6 separate regions of the Homo sapiens genome follow, and all the other regions are linked to region 3. Evidence: promoter capture Hi-C in 16 types of primary human blood cells and fetal thymus (Javierre and others, 2016). All regions are on one chromosome and are shown on one strand. The core of a region is centred on a gene start or on the middle of the fragment in contact, and the rest is flanking DNA. Distances in the headings are between cores, read along the strand shown.

Region 1 (2,746 bases), core at 16-2,515, 400 kb after region 3:
AGGCTGGTCTTGAACTTGTGACCTGAAGTGATCCGCCCGCCTTGGCCTCCCAAAGTGCTGGGATTACAGGCATGAGCCACCACGCTTGGCCCAAGTATGTTTATTTTTAAAGTCCCCAACAAGCTATACAATAAATTGCATATGGAATGGATTTTTGTTCTAGTTGATTTGTTGGTTATCATTTGTAGAACTAACTAGTTGTCTTCTGTGTTTGATACCTTGCTTCTAGGTCATTTTGAGTTGGGAGCCTTTTGTTTTGTTTTTATTCTCATGCTGTTTTTGAGCCTAGCTGTGCCTTTATGGTTTTCTCTAAATTTAATTGACCATTGTTTTATATTTGGAGCAGTGGGTGTACATCAGAGTGTGAAAGCAGCCCCACCCTCTCCACCAGAAGGTCTCCATGCCAGTTTCACGAAGCATTTTTCATGCCCTCATTCCTGCCCTTATCCCTTGATTTGTGGGGAGTTTGTAAAGCAGTTGATTGTTTTTTTTCCACGTAGTTTTCCAAGTGCACATAATTGTTCTGTTAGTGACTTGTAGCTCCATTATCTATTAACCTTGCCCCAGACCACTGTACAAGCGGACCCAACGCTTCCTCCAGCTGTGGCAGGGACAGTTACTTGGTATCCTGCTGCCTTTTCAATGCTGACCAGTTTTGCCCCTTCCTCCCCTCAACCCCTGTCTTTCATTCAACTATCACCAAACCAAAAGATTCTGGTTTGCTTTTTAGTATGTGTTCTTATTCAGTACATAGTCATTTTAAAATTTAAACCAAAACAGACTTGGTACTGATTAGCTTAATTTTAAGCTTTTTCTTTATTATTAAACAGTGTAGTTTATCTTAGCATTTCATATTAAGTATATGATTTATTTCATATTGCTTATATGAATGTACACATAAATATAATAAAAATATTTTCCTAAGGTTTTTGTAGTAAATTATATCGTTTCATTAACTTTCATATATAGCATTGCTTTTGACCTGGAAGACATTGAACCTCTGATGATTTGTATATTCCTCGGAGTATACTTTGTTACATAGAAATTTTCTCATTTATAATGAGATTTGTGATTAACAAAATTTGTTCAACATGCATTACTTTGAAGATCTGGTTTCTAAAATTTTATGCTAGTTACCCCACCCCCCCTTCTATATATATCTCCCTATTCAGCGACTACTGCAAGAGTTCCAGGAAATGTACACTGTGTGTTCACTTACTGCATTTTAAATCATTGCCTTTACTATATTTCTGCATTTCCCTTCAATCTAGCTCTGTCTGTACATTTCTGAAAGCCAGTAGCTTCCCTGAAGAACCAGGTAACAACCCGAACAATCAAATTAGATAACCATTTGTAGAATGGAGGTTCCGGGAGATCTTAGAAGATGTGATGGGTGCTAAGGGACTTTGTAGTTCCCTGAAGTTCCAGTGAGTAAAAGGTACCCTTGGAATTTTTTATTCCTTCAGACTTTTAAAACAGAGATCACTTTCAAAAATTACTCTTTCTGCTTTGAATCCATGTTTTAGTAACTATTTTGACACTGTTTGGTCAGAAGGCTGTGTGGGTCAACTGCAAATAAATAAAATAAATGTGATTTCAGTAATTTCCATTTTGTAACAAGTAATTGAGAAAATAGGATTGGATCAGATATTTGCTTATACACATTCCCTTTCAGGAGCACTTCTGTTCTATAAAGAATGTTGGTATATTGTTAAGGACACTTCAAGCTTTGGGAACCTTTGAAGTATCCATTGATTCAGTTAACAAAATTATGTTGAGTGCCTACCCTGGGCCTGGGCCTGTGTTAGGAGGGGACACTAAGATGAGAGTCCAAAGCACTTCTTCTCAGACTCCTGGCTGCTAATGGGTTGCTGCCTCTACTTCTTCACTTAGCAGATAGCTTTAAAATGAGTAATGCATTTTACCATGGAGCCCGTAAGAGACATTCACCCAGTTGTGGACCGAGGAGAAGGGTGTTAAACCCAGATTGTGATGTTTCACTTGATGAAGTGCTTAATATAAACATGGAAATATTTCCGCAAGGATAAACTGGCTTTTATGCCTGTGTGTTTTCAGGAGAAATAGAAATCTCTAATCAAATATTGCCAGCTTTTCACCCAAGTTTGACTTTTTGCCTAATTGAGTTTGGGAGGTGTCTGAATAATGGATAATGAGCTTTCCTGAATAAATATAAAAATTAATTAACTCCAGGCTCTAATTCATTCTGTTACCAGAGTTTTGTAAGCATGTTACCCCTTTGTGTTCATTGGGAGATCATCTGTTACCTTCTTAAATGAGTGGGGAAGGATGGGAAATGAGGAAGAGCTATAAAAACTATTCAGGTGAAGAAGGTTTCTGCCCCTCCTTGCCCCTTTTAAAATCTCCAGCTCAGCAGATGCTTTGTTTAAACTTGATCAAGTGCTTGTGAATCTTCCTAGCCTAGCTAAATCATAACTTTGGAAGGACTTGCTTTTTTCTCTCATGACAATGGTTTACCACAGAAATGATTCAGATCACTTTGTGTGCCTGATGCCTATGTAAAATGATACAGTGAAATGGAAACCATTTACCTGTAAGCTTTGGGCACACCCAAGCCTGCTTCAGGAGCACATGATCAGGCGTGCACTCTGGGAGAGCCGTACACATTTGACATCTATGATGTGTGGCGTTTTATTCTATCACATTTCTGAAATCTACACTAAGAGAAAGGAGGCTCTTAAAAAACCACTGAGGTGTGGACTGGGGG
Region 2 (2,700 bases), core at 139-2,638, 350 kb after region 3:
CCTCTTTCTCCTCTTTGCCCCAGGTAAAGCAAAAGGCCCTCCCCTTCCCACAGTGAGTCTGGCTTCCTTGCCTACCCCAGGATATGGGCAGTGGGAATATCCATGTCCTCCTGAAGAAAGTACAATTCCCCATGTGGTTCCCCTTGCAGCTCACTTCCCTGTGGCCTGGATGAGGCCATCACAAGAGTTGTAAGTGCGATCCCCTAAGCCCGGGTCCCTCCACTTTCAGTTATTCCAAATCAGAGTCCTCTCCAAGGGCTTCCCACCAGCACAAGGGGAAGGAAAGTTCAGGTCAGCGCCTCTTCTCTGCACAGTCAAGTCTCAAACAGAAGACCAGTTTCATCTTCAAATACAGAAACTGCTGGAGCAAATACTTGGTCAAAAAGGTACACATCTTTCCCAAGGACTTCAGGAACCCTTCTAGCTAAATCAAAGCTTAGAAATTCATTCCTCTTTTCTAAAAGGCTATGGTCCTAGTACAGATCCACCCAACTTACATGCATTATCACAATGCTGGTGTGCAACAGTGGGCAAGTCATGTATCACTCCAAGCCTCAGTTTCCTCATCTGTGAAATGAGGTTAATGACAGTTTCTCTTACAGGGTTGTTGGGAAGATGTAGAGAGATGATAAAGGTAAAGTGCTAGCTTAGTGCAGAGCCTAGTCTTTCGTCAAAGCCCAATACATGTAGCTAACATAACTAGTATTATTAAACAATAAGAAACAACTCAACATGGGGAATCTGCATCTGGATAATATCACTGTCTTAGGATTCTCCCCAAGAGCAGTGATTTCTCCCAGAATAATGGAAGAACATTCTCATCTTCAAAGACAAAAATGGCTCCAAATCCCCTTCAAAAACTTGAAAAACTAGACTTCACCTCCAGAACTGGTTACATAAGCTCAATGCAGAATGAATATGCGGGGCTCCTTGTTCAAACATTATTGCGAGTTTCGGCCAGGCACAGTCGCTCATGCCTGTAATCCCTGCACTTTCAGAGGCCGAGGCAGGTGGATCTCCTGAGGTCAGGAGTTTGAGACAAGCCTGGCCAACATGGTGAAACCTCATCTCTACTAAAAACACCAAAATTAGCCGGGCGTGGTGGTGGGTGCCTGTAATCCCAGCCACTCGGGAGGCTGAGGCAGGAGAATCTCTTGAAACTGGGAGGCAGAGGTTGCAGTGAGCCAAGATTGCACCACTGCATTCCAGCCTGGGCAACGGAGCAAGACTCCATCTCAAAAAAAAAAAAATTATTAAGAATTTCAAGGCTGGGTGCGGTGGCTCACACCTGTAATCCTAGCAATTTGGGAGGCCGAGGCGGGCAGATCACTTGAGATCAGGAGTTCAAAACCAGCCTGGCCAACATGGTGAAACCCCGTCTCTACTAAAAATACAAAAAAAAAAAATTAGCCGGGCATGGTGGCAGGTGCCTGTAATCCCAGCTACTCGAGAGGCTGAGGCAGGAGAATTGCTTTAACCCAAGAGGCAGAGGTTGCAGAGAGCCAAGGTCACGCCACTGCACTCCAGCCTGGACAACAGAGCGAGACTCAGTCTCAAAAACAAACAAAAACAAAGAAACAAACAAACAAACAAAAGAATTTCAAGACAAAGACAGCAGAGCAAACAAGTGCAGGCCCCTTCTGAGCTCGGGACTCTGCAATCACACAGGTTGCACACACACCCATGAAACCAGCCAAGTTCACCTACAGCAGCAGAACAAAAAATAGGGTTGTAAAATTGCAGGTTGCAATATATATTATGAAAAACTTCTGAAGACAGATGGTAGCTTGCTTTTTTCCACTCAGCAACTTACACAACTGTAGAACAACAGCAAAATTTTTGAGTCCTTGCTGTGAACTAGAGACCAGGCTGAGTGCTTTACACACATACTCTCATTTAATCATCACATCCCTGCATTCTGTAAAAGATGGAAAACCAAGGATTGGAGAGGGTAAGGAACTTGCCCAAGGGCACATGAGCCCAATTCAGCCTAATTCCAGAACCCACACCCAGAACCACCATGTGTACAGTGAAAGTGCCCCCGCAAGCCTCAGCCCTGCAAACTAGAGTGTGGAGGATGTTGTAGGGGCCTCTGGAAACCCTCCCCAGACTCCTCCTTTGCTGAAAGCATGGAGCTGGGACCGGTTTCCATCTTTGGATCCAACTTCCCTCCTTGAACTTTCCCGCACATCTCTGACCCTCCTTTCTCAGAACACATGTGATTCCCCTAGTTCCCCCTGAATGCCTCCTCCTCCCCCACCGGGGAAGTTGCTCTTACCAGACAGGCAGCGTGGGATTATGTTTACGCATTTATTTTTGTTTCTTTTTAATGACTTGCTGTAAAGCTTAAAATGTCTTCCGGGTGGTAGAGAGGCAGGGGAGTCGCCCATTAAAAATGAAGCCCAGTAAAAATGAAGCCCAGTAGAGACGTGAGTGGGAGATTCTGGGCTGTTAACCTTCCCGTGAGTTCTGAAATAGTGCAGAACTCATATATTTAATATAGTTTCAGAACTAGAAGCAGCAAATAGAGCTGAACTGGGTTCAAATCCTGACTCCACCATTTCTCATCTGTGTGACTGTGGGCAAGTTGCTTAACCTCTCTGTGCCACGGTTCAAATGGAGATCACAATAGTACAGGCTCCAGAGTGGTGGTGTTAATGAATGATTATCGTTATTATTATCCTCATTGTTATTACTATT
Region 3 (2,700 bases), core at 2-2,501:
CACTTCCTTAACTCCTGGGGATATAGGGCCCTCCTGAGGCCAAACAGTAAAATTCCTAGGGCTCACGTAGGAGTCACAAAAGTGGGTGTAGGGGGGGTGCTTGCTGGAGCATATACAGTGAGCAAAGCAGGAAGAAGCTAGGGAGAAACCGTGGCCTGAGGGAAAGGGACAGAGAGGGAGAGGTGAACTCCAACTTATGATCTGGTCTGGGGAATATGGGGGTTCCAGTCCCAAGTCCTAAGGAAGGGGCCAATACATGGATGTGAGGGAGGGGCAAGAGCTAGAGTTGGGGCTTATGTACAGGGGAGCTTACAGTGGGGTACATTCAGTCCCCTCACTGCCTGGGATCCAGGAATATGGGGCAAGGACTGATGCTCACCACTGGAGGGTTGGGGAGAGGATATCGGTCTGTAGCCACTGAAGCTATCACTAGGATGGGGTTTTGGGGGAAGGGTGTGGGGGGTACCGTGCAGCTGGAAGCCCCTGAGTTAGGGTTCCCTGGGCAGAGGGGCTGACATTCCCAGGTTAGGGAGGTGAGGTCATTGTTTGCAGCCCAGGGCCTGGGCTAGGGCACAGAGGAGGTACTAGGATGTAGATTCCAGATCTGGGGAACCCAGGATGAGGTGTGACTTTTAGGGGCCTGAGGGCAGTGCTTACAGCTGAAGGGCAGCTTTGGGCTTGGACCGGGTCCTGGGGGGATGAGGGGGTGGGGTTCTAAGTCTAGGAGCACTCTTCACAACCGAGAATGCCCCGGGGCTAGGATTCCGTATCTGCGGGTCCGATGGGAGCTCCGTTTGTCGCCCAGGGAGCTCATGGTAATTTCTTGATCTGGGGAGTGTCTCTGCAGCCAGGAAACCCCGGGGCCAAGGTTCTGGCTTGGGTTCGGAAGGGACACTGGGGTGGGGTCCCCGAACTTGCTATTTGCAAGTTAGACACCCGGGCTGGAGTTCCGCATCTGGGCCCGAGGTTGGGACTCCAGTCTGGGGTCGCTGTCCGCAGCCGGGGCTGGTGACCGCAGGCCTGGAGGGGGGCCCAGAGGTCTTACCTGGCGAGTAGAGCGCAGCCAGCTCGCGGGCCCCGGCGTGCTGCGCGCCCCAGCGGCAACAAGACGCCTCGTCCTCGTCCAGCTCCAGCTGCTGGCCCGGCCAGTTCTCGGCGCCCGCCATGGCCACTCGCCCGATCGGCCCGGTGCGCTCTGCTGGCGGCGGCGGCGGCAGGGCCGCGGAACCGCGGCGAGATCACGCCGCCCAATGACCGCCCAGCGCCGGGCGCGGCGGCGGCGCGGGCGGGGTCCTCGCCCGGCCGCGCGTCACAGCCAATCGGGGCTCGCGCCGGAGCCGCGCAGGCCAATCGGACGTCGCTGAGCCGCAGCCAACCGCCGCGAGCCGGAGGCTGGGACGCAGCTGGACGCAGCTGGGCGCGGAAGCTTGGGGCGGAGGCGCGTGCCCGCCTTCCCAGCTCAGCCCCGGCAGGGCTCCCGGCTCCAGCCCACTGGGAGCTCGCGGCGCGTCGCCGCCCAGCTAGGCTTCGGTTCACGGGCCCATGCAATGGGCCGAGGCAGGGCCCAGAAATGGGCATTTCTTGAGCCGGCAGCGTTAAGCGCCCACTGTGTGCAAGGAACGCGAGGGCAGGGCGCCGGGCTGGGGCCGAGGCCAGGAAGCATTTGGCGGGTGCTCTGTACGATGCTCCCTAGCGAGGCCGATGGAGAGTGGGCTGGTTTATCAAGCCCTACTGTGTGCAGAGGTTTCGGGTGCCATGTGTTCATCAGCTGTGTGCCAGCTCTGTGCTGTGCGCCCAAAGAGGAGAAACGTCGAGCCTGCCCCGCATCCTCCCCAGCTCATGTTCTCCCGGTGGCGAGGACAGTAAACTAATGAAAATGACAACTAGGGTCACTATGAGATTTGCTGAGCGCTTAATATCTGTCAGGTGCTGGACCAAGAGCTAGACGAGCAACATTTATTTGACTCTTAAACACCAATGGTATTGCCTCCTCAGAGAGCCCCACCACCACCACCCTGCTCAAAGGTGCCCCCTCCTCCAGTCACTGTGACATCACCCTGTTTTGTCTTCACAGCGCTTCTGGTGGGGATTGAGCTTGCAGTCCCTGTCTCTCCTATCAGAGAGCAAGCTCCTGAGGGCAGAGAACAGCTTTGTTTACAGCAGGGCCCCCGTGCCAGGATCGGGGCTGGAACATGGTAGAAGCTCAATAAATGCTTGATGAATGAATTAAGGCTCAGCCAGATGCGTCTAATACTTCGGCAGATAAATGACAGCAGCAGGGATTTACCCCAGGTCTAACCGACAACAAAGTATGCAATAATTTCTCATAGAAATTCCATACAGGCAGCCGGGCGCGGTGGCTCACGCCGGTAATCCCAGCACTTTGGGAGGCCAAGGCGGGCGGATCATGAGGTCAGGAGATCGAGACCATCCTGGCTAACACGGTGAAACCCCGTCTCTACTAAAAATACAAAAAATTAGCTGGGCGCGGTGGCGGGCGCCTGTAGTCCCAGCTACTCGGGAGGCTGAGACAGGAGAATGGCGTGAACCCGGGAGGCGGAGCTTGCAGTGAGCCGAGATCGCGCCACTGCACTCCAGCCTGGGCGACAGAGGGAGACTCCGTCTCAAAAAAAAAAAAAAAAAATTCCATACAGGCTGGACGCGGTGGCTCAGGCCTGTAATCCCAGCACTTTGGGAGGC
Region 4 (2,718 bases), core at 162-2,661, 330 kb after region 3:
TGCCAACATTCAACATGTGTGACTATCCCCAGAAAGTAACTACGTAGGAACAAGAACATGAGATGCTCCCAGCTGGAGCCCCAAGGGCCATTTCCAAAGCTACCAACAGAGCGTCCTCTGTGTTTCAGTAAGGGTAACTTTCTGCAAAATACAACAAAGATGTTCATGTGAAATAAAGGGGGTGATTTATGTATGAAAAGGTGGGGTGTGAGCCTTGTGAATACCATGGGAAGATGAGGTCCTTCCACTCAGGGAATAGGAGCCCCGTGGTTTGGCCCCAGATGGTAAACAGGAGTGCTGTTTAGTTGAAGAACAGCATGTCCCATTCTGTTCTTTTGGGGAGATTTAAAGCAAGACCGTTTGCAATTGGATCTAATTGATAAGTGTCTTAGTTTGGAATCCCCTGTTGGCACACCTCATATCTTAGTTTAGATTCTCTAGATACAGACCCTGAGACAAAGACTCAAGGACACATCACTTCTTTGGAAGGCAAAAGAAATACGAGTAGAGAAGAAAAGAGACCCAGGGAAAGGAGGACAACCAATATTAAGCAAGTTATCAAGACAGTTACTGCCCTAGGCAAGTGAAGCTTAATTCCACCTGTGTAGAACACATGTCTCAGAGTTATCTTACCTGAAGGATCAGCAACTCCATCTTGGAAGCTAATCCGCCATGTTGGCTTCTGATTAACCCCTGTTCCAAGAAGGCCTCTAAGATTTCTAGTTTATCTATTATTCCTTGTGTAAGAGCAGGTTCTGACTCTATATCCTGTCCTTAGGTCAAACAACCTTGATGTTATCTTACTTCAACTGTTCTACACATCCCTTCTGAACCACCCCTCTCCTATGGTATAGAAGCCCTGGGTCTGGGAGATAATGGAGTGGGGATCCACCATCTTGTCTGGCCACCGCAGGAGACACAGACGTGGCATCTGTTTCTAAGTTTCTATTAAAAGTTTCTTTCTAAGGAACTGAGTATGTCAGCATCATCTCTTCAGCCTCTCAGCTTCCTTGGACTTTGGGGTAAGTTTGCATAGACCTGCCCACTGCAAAACAATCAGGAAGCTGGGGTATTTATACACCACCTCTATCCATTCCTTGGTTGAAGGCAGCTGGAAAGAAGAGAAGGAATATTCATTCTCCAACCTCCTTTAGGCTGCTTGACTCTGACAACCAGAAGAAAAAACCCAAAAAACTCATAGAAAAAGATGCACATACTACCAGTTAGAAGTTGGGCAGTTGGCCAGGCGCAGTGGCTCATGCCTGTAATCCCAGCACTTTGGGAGGCTGAGGAGGGCGGATCACCTGAAGTCAGGAGTTCAAGACCAGCCTAGTCAACATGGTGAAACAAAATACAAAAATTAGCCGGGCGTGACGGTGGGTGCCTGTAATCCCAGGTACTTGGGAGGCTGAGGCAGGAGAATTGCTTGAACCCGGGAGGCAGAGGTTGTAGTGAGCCAAGATCATGCCACTGCACTCCAGTCTGGGCAACAGGGCAAGACTCTGTCTCAAAAACAAACAAACAAACAAAAAAAAGAGCTAGTTACCTTTATGGGCAACTGGGGCACAGTCCCAGAGGGGCCCTCAGGGGATGATGTGGAGTATACCGCAAGATTGTCTCAGGAAGGGTTGGGGAAACTGTGCTGTTTATCCGCAATGACCACTCTCAGCGGTTGAAGGTGGTGCCCGGGGCCAGCAACTCCAGTACACTTCCCTTCCCACACATGTGACCTGCCATGCGCACATGAAGCACACAGGCTCTGGGCAGAGAGATGCGGGTGCCGGAGGTTGGGTATACGTCACCAGCATTTATAGAACTGTCCATCTAGCTTCAGGCAGCTCTCTTGAGTGGGCTGAGGAGGATGAGTGAGCACTGATGCTGGCCAGGAAACTTAGGAGAAGGAGGGGAAAGGAAGAAAGGAACAAAACTAACATTTATAAAGTGCAGGGTAGTTGCCAGCCATTAGCACAGTTACTTTCGTTTTCTGATTCCCATTGTACAGTTGAGAAAAACGAGCTCAGAGAGGGAAAGTGACTTGCTCTTGACTATGTGACAGTTAAGTGCTGGAATTCCAGCTCAGATTGAGTCTACAAAGACAGTGTTCTCTATCTCCCTCTTCCTTTTCTCCTTGTCCTCCTCTTCTCTGCTTTTCTCTCCCTCTCCCTCCTCCCCACCACCTTGTTTATTTTTTTTCCAAATAATATTTAGAGTTACCAAGACAGAAGTCAAGAGGAAAGCTTTCTGGTGTCCTTAAAGATGTGCTTTATGAAAGATAGTTTTCATTTGCTCTTTTATTCATTTGACACATTTATTAAGCACCTATGATACGCAATATATAGAAAACAAGACAGACACAATCCTTGCCCCTTAGGCTTTATACTCTAGCAGGAAAAGGAGGCATTAAACAGCTAAATACACATGGCGAGGAGGGGGTAAGGGAAGCCTAGATGGGGAAGTGGGGGAGTGAGATGGGAACAGGAAGGCAGCCATAAAAAGCAATTAGTTGATTACGTTGTGATACAGGTTTCTCAACCTCCGCATTAGTGAAATTTTGACTGGATCATTCCTGTAGGCTGTTCTGGGCATTGTAGGATATTTAGCAGCGTCTCTGGCCTCTACCCACTAGATGCCAGTAGCATTCTTACCCTGGTTTTGACAACCAAAAATGTTTCCAGACATTGTCAAATGGCCCCTGGGGGGCAAAATCACTCCCAGTTG
Region 5 (2,734 bases), core at 160-2,659, 370 kb after region 3:
AGTCAATAAATTGCCATAGTGGGGAATTGCTTAATTGCTTGCCTTCTGTTGTTGTATTTAATTTAATTTTATTTTTAATGATTTTTTTGGTGGGGTACAGGGTCTTAACTATGTTGTCCAGGCTGGTCTTGAACTCCTAAACTCAAGTGATCCTCCCGCCTCGGGCTCCCAAAATGCTGGGATTACAGGTGTGAGCCACCATGCCCAGCTTAGTTGTATTTTAAATGGGCCTGTTTGCAGCATTCCCTACTCCCCTTAGTTTACCTGGCTCACAACCTGTCTTTCCATATCAAGGCTTCTGTCACCCCTGGCCCATGTCAGTGCATTTGGGCAGCCCACCCAGCATCATCACCTCATGTCCCAGGGAACTTCCTGTTCCTCTCTTCCAGCTATTTCCTTCCCTGGCAGTTGAGATAGTCTCTACCTTTGACCTACTGTTAAGCTCAGACCTTCTGCTCTCTAGTTACAGCCTCTGTGCTGCCAGATTCCCTCGCTCAGTTGCTTTCTCTAGTTTGGGTTTTCTCCTTTATTCAGATTTCCAGCTGTTTCTCTCCTCCCCCCACCGCAGCCTCCTCACTTCCCTCCTTATGCATCTGAGACTGTGGTCAGTCACTTTAGATGCTGCCTCTCCACTGTACTTGTGTCCATCTTCTTACCTACCACCTCTAGCCCTGGAGCAGGCTCTTCCCCTGTCTTTGTCTTCCTGGGCCCAGGCTCCTAAGCGCTGCTGGAAAAAAAATCCCCCAGTATTGAGCCCCTAGAAATCCAGTCTTTAATCCCAAATCTGTCTCCCCCAGCATCTGGCCATCAGATCTAAAGCTTACCTGCCATCCTTTCCACCTCATTTCTCTCACAGGGGAAAAGGAGCCTTTGCTCCTAGAGTCTGCGCTCCTGACCCCTTCCCATCTCACCTGTTCAAGGCATCTTGCAATAAGGGGTTGGTGACTCTCGAGGAATGGATCCCAGGCCCTCCCTATTATCATCTTATGTATGCCAGTTCAACGTTCTCAGCTTCCTCCAGCCGAGACGGCCCCTCCAGCCACTGCTTTATACTCTCCTTCTCTGGTTGAAATTTTTGAAGTAAATAGGTCACTCTGCCCATCGTTCATCTTCCAGTCACTCTGTGTGTTTATCTTCCAGGGAAGTGAGGCTCTATGCTACCAAGCCACTGAAATAATTTTTTTTTTTTTCCAGACTGAGTCTTGCTCTGTCACCCAGGCTGGAGTGCAGTGCCGCAGTCTTGGCTCACTGCAACCTCTGCCTCCCGGCTTCAGGCGATTCTCCTGCCCCAGCCTCCTGAGTAGCTGGGATTACAGGTGCCTGTCATCACGCCTGGCTAATTTTTTGTATTTTTGGTAGAGATGGGGCTTCACCATGTTGGCCAGGCTTGTTGGCATGTTGACCATGTTGGCCAGGCTAGCCTCAAGTGATCCACCCGTCAGCCTCCCAAAGTGCTGAGATTACAGGTGTGAGCCACCGCACCTGGCCTGAAATAATTCTTGACAAGATCTGCTTCCTTGTTACTAATACAGTGGATATTTTGCATCCTAATTTTAATGCAGTTCAGTGTGGTAGACCTGTATTTGCATATTGAATATTCCCTTCCCTGTTTTAATAACTCTATTTTTTCCTTTTCTTTTATATCTCCTGCTTCTCTAGCTAGTCCTAGACCTTACTCATCGGTGTCTTCTCTGTTTGTTCCTCAACTTGAGGAGTTCCTACAGGGTTTACCCAATCTGCTGCTTTCATTTAGCCCTTTTGTTCTTTTTGAGCCATCTCATTCACTCACCCAGGATGTAGCATCGGCCCTTGAATTCAGTGTGCACACATACACTGTGCACTATGGGACAGCCTTCAGAGGCACTTTGTTCCTGAAATTGTGGTGGTCTTTGCCTCTCATGGAGCCTTGCATATGCTGTTTCCTCTGCCTGGAATATCCTACCTTTTACTTAACTGATTCTCGTTCTTCTTTCCAGTCACATTTTGTACATTTCTTCTGGGAAGCTTTCTCTGATTTCCCCTTTCCACAGGTCCAAGTTAACTGCCTTGTCTAGGTCCTCCCATGGCCCTCTGAAGGCCTCCTTTCATAGCACCATGTCTGAGTATACTGTAATAACACGCATTGCTCTGTAATAGCCTGTTTACTTACCTATTGCCAAGTAATCTATCAAGTCTTATAAAGGGCGGGGCTGCTTTTGTTCTAGTCATTTGTATCTCTTAGTACCCAATATAGTGTTTGGCATATAGAAAATACCCAACAAGGCCAGTCGCAGTGGCTCATACCTGTAATCCGAGCACTTTGGTAGGCTGAGGTGGGCGGATCACTTGAGGTCAGGAGTTTGAGACCAGCCTGGCCAACATGGTGAAACCCTGTCTCTACTAAAAATACAAAAATTAGCCAGGCGTGGTGGCGGGTGCCTGTAGTCCCAGCTACTTGGGAGGCTGAGGCAGGAGAATCACTTGAACTGGGGAGGTGGAGGTTGCAGTGAGCTGAGATCACTCCACTGCACTCCAGCCTGGGTGACAGAGTGAGACTCCATCTTAAAAAAAAAAAAGACTCCATCTTAAAAAAAAAAAAAAAGAAAAAAGAAAGAAAATACCCAATAAGTAGTTCCTGAATGAATAGATGAGAATGCTGTTTAGAAGGTTCATGAATTGGAAACCGTGATTGCTAGGGAGGCTTTGAGTTGATGGTATTGTGTTGAACCATGTGTTACCCAGGATCAATTTAGAT
Region 6 (2,700 bases), core at 113-2,612, 310 kb after region 3:
TTTGCCACCAGAAAAGAAATATAAACAGTCTTTGAACGTATTTTTTAAATGTCCAATCTAACATATAAACAATGAATATGTAGATTAGAACTATGGTGAACACCTTTTTCCCCTATCGGCAAGGCCAAGATCAAGAAGTCCAATCATACTTGGCCTTGGCTAGGACGTGGGGAAACCAGAGCTCACGGAGGTTGCCGGTGCAAATGACGATTGGTAGGTACAACCTTAGAGAGCATTTAGACAACCAGCGTCAAAATGTTTAAACGCACCTGCCCTATGACTGGGCGATTCAGTTGCTAAGAATGTATCCATCAGAAATAGCTCTGAATACATGGAAAGACTTCTGTGAAAGGGATACTAATTGCAGCATTGTTTGTTGCAGAAAAACCCTGGAAATACCTCCGTGACTATCACCAGAAAACTTGTTAGATAAATTATTATATTCAGACAATGGAATGTGCAAAGAATGCTCTCCTAGTGCTGATCTGGAAAGATCTGCCAAGGTACATTGCTAAGTTGAAAAAAACAAAATCCCAGTGCAGAACAGGGTGTGTGGTGTGCTTCTATTTAGAGAAATGAGTACAGGAATCCACGCACATATTTGCTTATCTGTGTTCTGGATGTCTCTGTAATGATCCCCAAGAAATGATAACCAGAATGGATTCTGGGGAGGGAAGCTTGGAGTTTTAAAGCTGGGGATGGGGGTTAAGGATTAGAGGGAGAAGACCCACTGTAAATCTTTTGGTATCTTTTGAATTTTTGCATATGAATACAATCCCTTGTTAGTTTTTAAAAATGGAACTTTTTAATGCATTGATAGATGACAGAGAGAAAAATGCCTTGAAGGATATGCTCCAACGTGTCAATAGCACTTATCTCTGGGTGGCTGATGTGAATTAGAAGCGACTTTTATTTTGTTCTTTTTTTATTATTTCTCTAATCAATTATTTATTTTGAGACAAGATCTTGCTCTATCACCCAGGCTGGAGTGCAGTGATGCGATCACCACTCATTGAAACCTCTGCCTCCTGGGCTTAAGTGATCCTCCCAGCTTAGCCTCCTGAGTGGCTGGGACTATAGGCACTTGCCACCATGCCTGGCTGATTTTTTATTTTTAATTAAATTTTTTTTTGTAAAGACGAAGTCTCACTAAGTTGCCCAAGCTGGTTTTGAACTCCTGGGCTCAAACGATCCCTCTGTTTCAGCTTCCCAAAGTGCTAGGATTACAGGTGTGAGCCACTGTGCCCGGTCTGTTCTTTTTAAAAAATACAGAGACAGGGTCTCACTTTGTCACCTAGGCTAGAGTACAGTGGCATAATCATAGCACCCTGCAGCCTTGATCTTCTAGGCTCAAGTGATCCTCCAGCTTCAGCCTCCCAAGTAGCTGGGACCACAGGCATGCACCACCACTTCTGGCTATATTTTGTTCTTTTTACTTAGATTTTCTAATTTAAAAAAATAATTACCAGCCGGGTGTGGTGGCCCATGCCTGTAAATCCTAGCACTCTAGGAGGCCGAGGCAGGAGGATCATTTGAGCCCAGGAGTTTGAGACCAGCCTGGGCAACATAGTGAAACCGCGTCTTTACTAAAAATACAAAAAAAAAAAAAAATTAGCTGGGTGTGGTGGTGCTCACCTGTAGTCCCAGCTACTCAGAAGGCTGAGGCAGGAGAATCACTTGAACCTGGGAGGCAGAGGTTACAGTGAGCCCAGATCACACCACTGCACTCCAGCCTGGGCAACAGAGCGAGACTCCGTCTTAAAATAAAATAAAATAAAATAAAATAAATAATTATCAAGGTATATTCAGATAATTTTTTTAAAAATTAAGTAAGTAAACACCTCAGTGTTCTCTTGGTAGTCAGGGGAAAACTAACTTCTACATGAAAAAAAGAAAAGACCAAAAACACATACACTTCTCTAAACAGGCAGATTATTTTCATTGCCAAGGACATTACAGAGACTGAGGAGTGGGTTGGAAATATATTCTATGAAAAATCGAGAATTAATACAACTGTCCTACCATGCACTTTCTGGGCATCAAAACGCCAAGCTTCTAACTCAGACCTGAGTTCAAACTCTGACTGCCACTTACTAGCTGGGCAAGTTGCTCCTACGCCGTTGGCCTCAGTTTCCTCATCTGTAGTCTGAGACCACATTGCTGCTGGCAGGCTCGAGTGAGATCATGCCTGTGAAGTACTTGGCTCAGGCGTACTCAGAGACCCAGTTCAAACAGGGAACAGGCAGAAATTCTGCACCCCGCAAGGGTGACAGGGCGGAGGGAGGACAGGAGGGGCCGCTTTGCCGGACTGGGGATCAGTGTGCAACTAGCTGGGCCCGGAGTCCCCCACAAACCGGCCAGCTCAGAGGTTCTTCCGACAGTTTGGAGAGAGTGACACCAAGTGGCCAAGTCTGAAACTACACCTTCAAGCCGGAGGGTTAGAGCCTCTCCCCGACCCCTCCAGCTGCGGTCCTGAGCCAGGCACTGAACTTCCCTGAATCTGAGTTTTTTCAGCTGCGAAATGGAGGTAATCCTGCCTACCTGGCAGAGCGGAGGTGGGAATTAAATGAGGTAACCCGCAGAGATTCTCTCCAGGACCGCCATGTTGCACAACTTCAGGGGCCCCATTCATGAAACTGTGCAACATAGCGGCACCCCTAACAGGTGGCTGTCATTATCATCCCTCCCTCAGACACTGAG

Evidence for each region. The method cuts DNA at HindIII sites, captures the fragments that hold promoters and counts their contacts. A CHiCAGO score of 5 or more calls a contact.
Region 1: a fragment that was not itself captured here is called in contact with the fragment with the promoter of PEDS1 in region 3 in 1 of 17 cell types (activated CD4 T cells); the score reaches 5.3 in activated CD4 T cells.
Region 2: a contact is called between a fragment that was not itself captured here and the fragment with the promoter of PEDS1 in region 3, in 1 of 17 cell types (monocytes). The highest score is 5.5, in monocytes.
Region 4: a contact is called between a fragment that was not itself captured here and the fragment with the promoter of PEDS1 in region 3, in 9 of 17 cell types (neutrophils, monocytes, naive CD8 T cells and 6 more). The highest score is 9.5, in neutrophils.
Region 5: a fragment that was not itself captured here is called in contact with the fragment with the promoter of PEDS1 in region 3 in 1 of 17 cell types (activated CD4 T cells); the score reaches 5.0 in activated CD4 T cells.
Region 6: a contact is called between a fragment that was not itself captured here and the fragment with the promoter of PEDS1 in region 3, in 6 of 17 cell types (fetal thymus, total CD8 T cells, naive CD8 T cells and 3 more). The highest score is 10.7, in fetal thymus.

What each region holds. Positions count from the first base shown.
Region 1 is chr20:50,548,927-50,551,672 of GRCh38, forward strand. All of the region lies in intron 1 of PTPN1 (protein tyrosine phosphatase non-receptor type 1), which reads left to right. Among named protein-coding and RNA genes, the nearest start is that of MIR645, 35 kb to the right of the region's middle. The HindIII fragment of the contact is 919 bases long and covers 807-1,725 here.
Region 2 is chr20:50,499,961-50,502,660 of GRCh38, forward strand. No RefSeq gene overlaps it. Among named protein-coding and RNA genes, the nearest start is that of PTPN1, 9.1 kb to the right of the region's middle. The HindIII fragment of the contact is 1,910 bases long and covers 434-2,343 here.
Region 3 is chr20:50,152,472-50,155,171 of GRCh38, forward strand. It overlaps PEDS1 (plasmanylethanolamine desaturase 1), which reads right to left and starts at 1,252. Exons shown (of 6, transcript NM_199129.4): 1 at 1,046-1,252. The coding sequence starts at 1,166. It overlaps PEDS1-UBE2V1 (PEDS1-UBE2V1 readthrough), which reads right to left and starts at 1,252. Exons shown (of 8, transcript NM_199203.3): 1 at 1,046-1,252. The coding sequence starts at 1,166. RefSeq lists a silencer at 1,006-1,685. The HindIII fragment of the contact is 1,492 bases long and covers 1-1,424 here.
Region 4 is chr20:50,481,898-50,484,615 of GRCh38, forward strand. No RefSeq gene overlaps it. Among named protein-coding and RNA genes, the nearest start is that of PTPN1, 27 kb to the right of the region's middle. RefSeq lists enhancers at 1,885-1,934, 1,975-2,084. The HindIII fragment of the contact is 1,648 bases long and covers 588-2,235 here.
Region 5 is chr20:50,526,171-50,528,904 of GRCh38, forward strand. The region is part of intron 1 of PTPN1 (protein tyrosine phosphatase non-receptor type 1); the gene reads left to right. Among named protein-coding and RNA genes, the nearest start is that of PTPN1, 17 kb to the left of the region's middle. The HindIII fragment of the contact is 1,185 bases long and covers 818-2,002 here.
Region 6 is chr20:50,462,029-50,464,728 of GRCh38, forward strand. No RefSeq gene overlaps it. Among named protein-coding and RNA genes, the nearest start is that of PTPN1, 47 kb to the right of the region's middle. The HindIII fragment of the contact is 1,375 bases long and covers 676-2,050 here.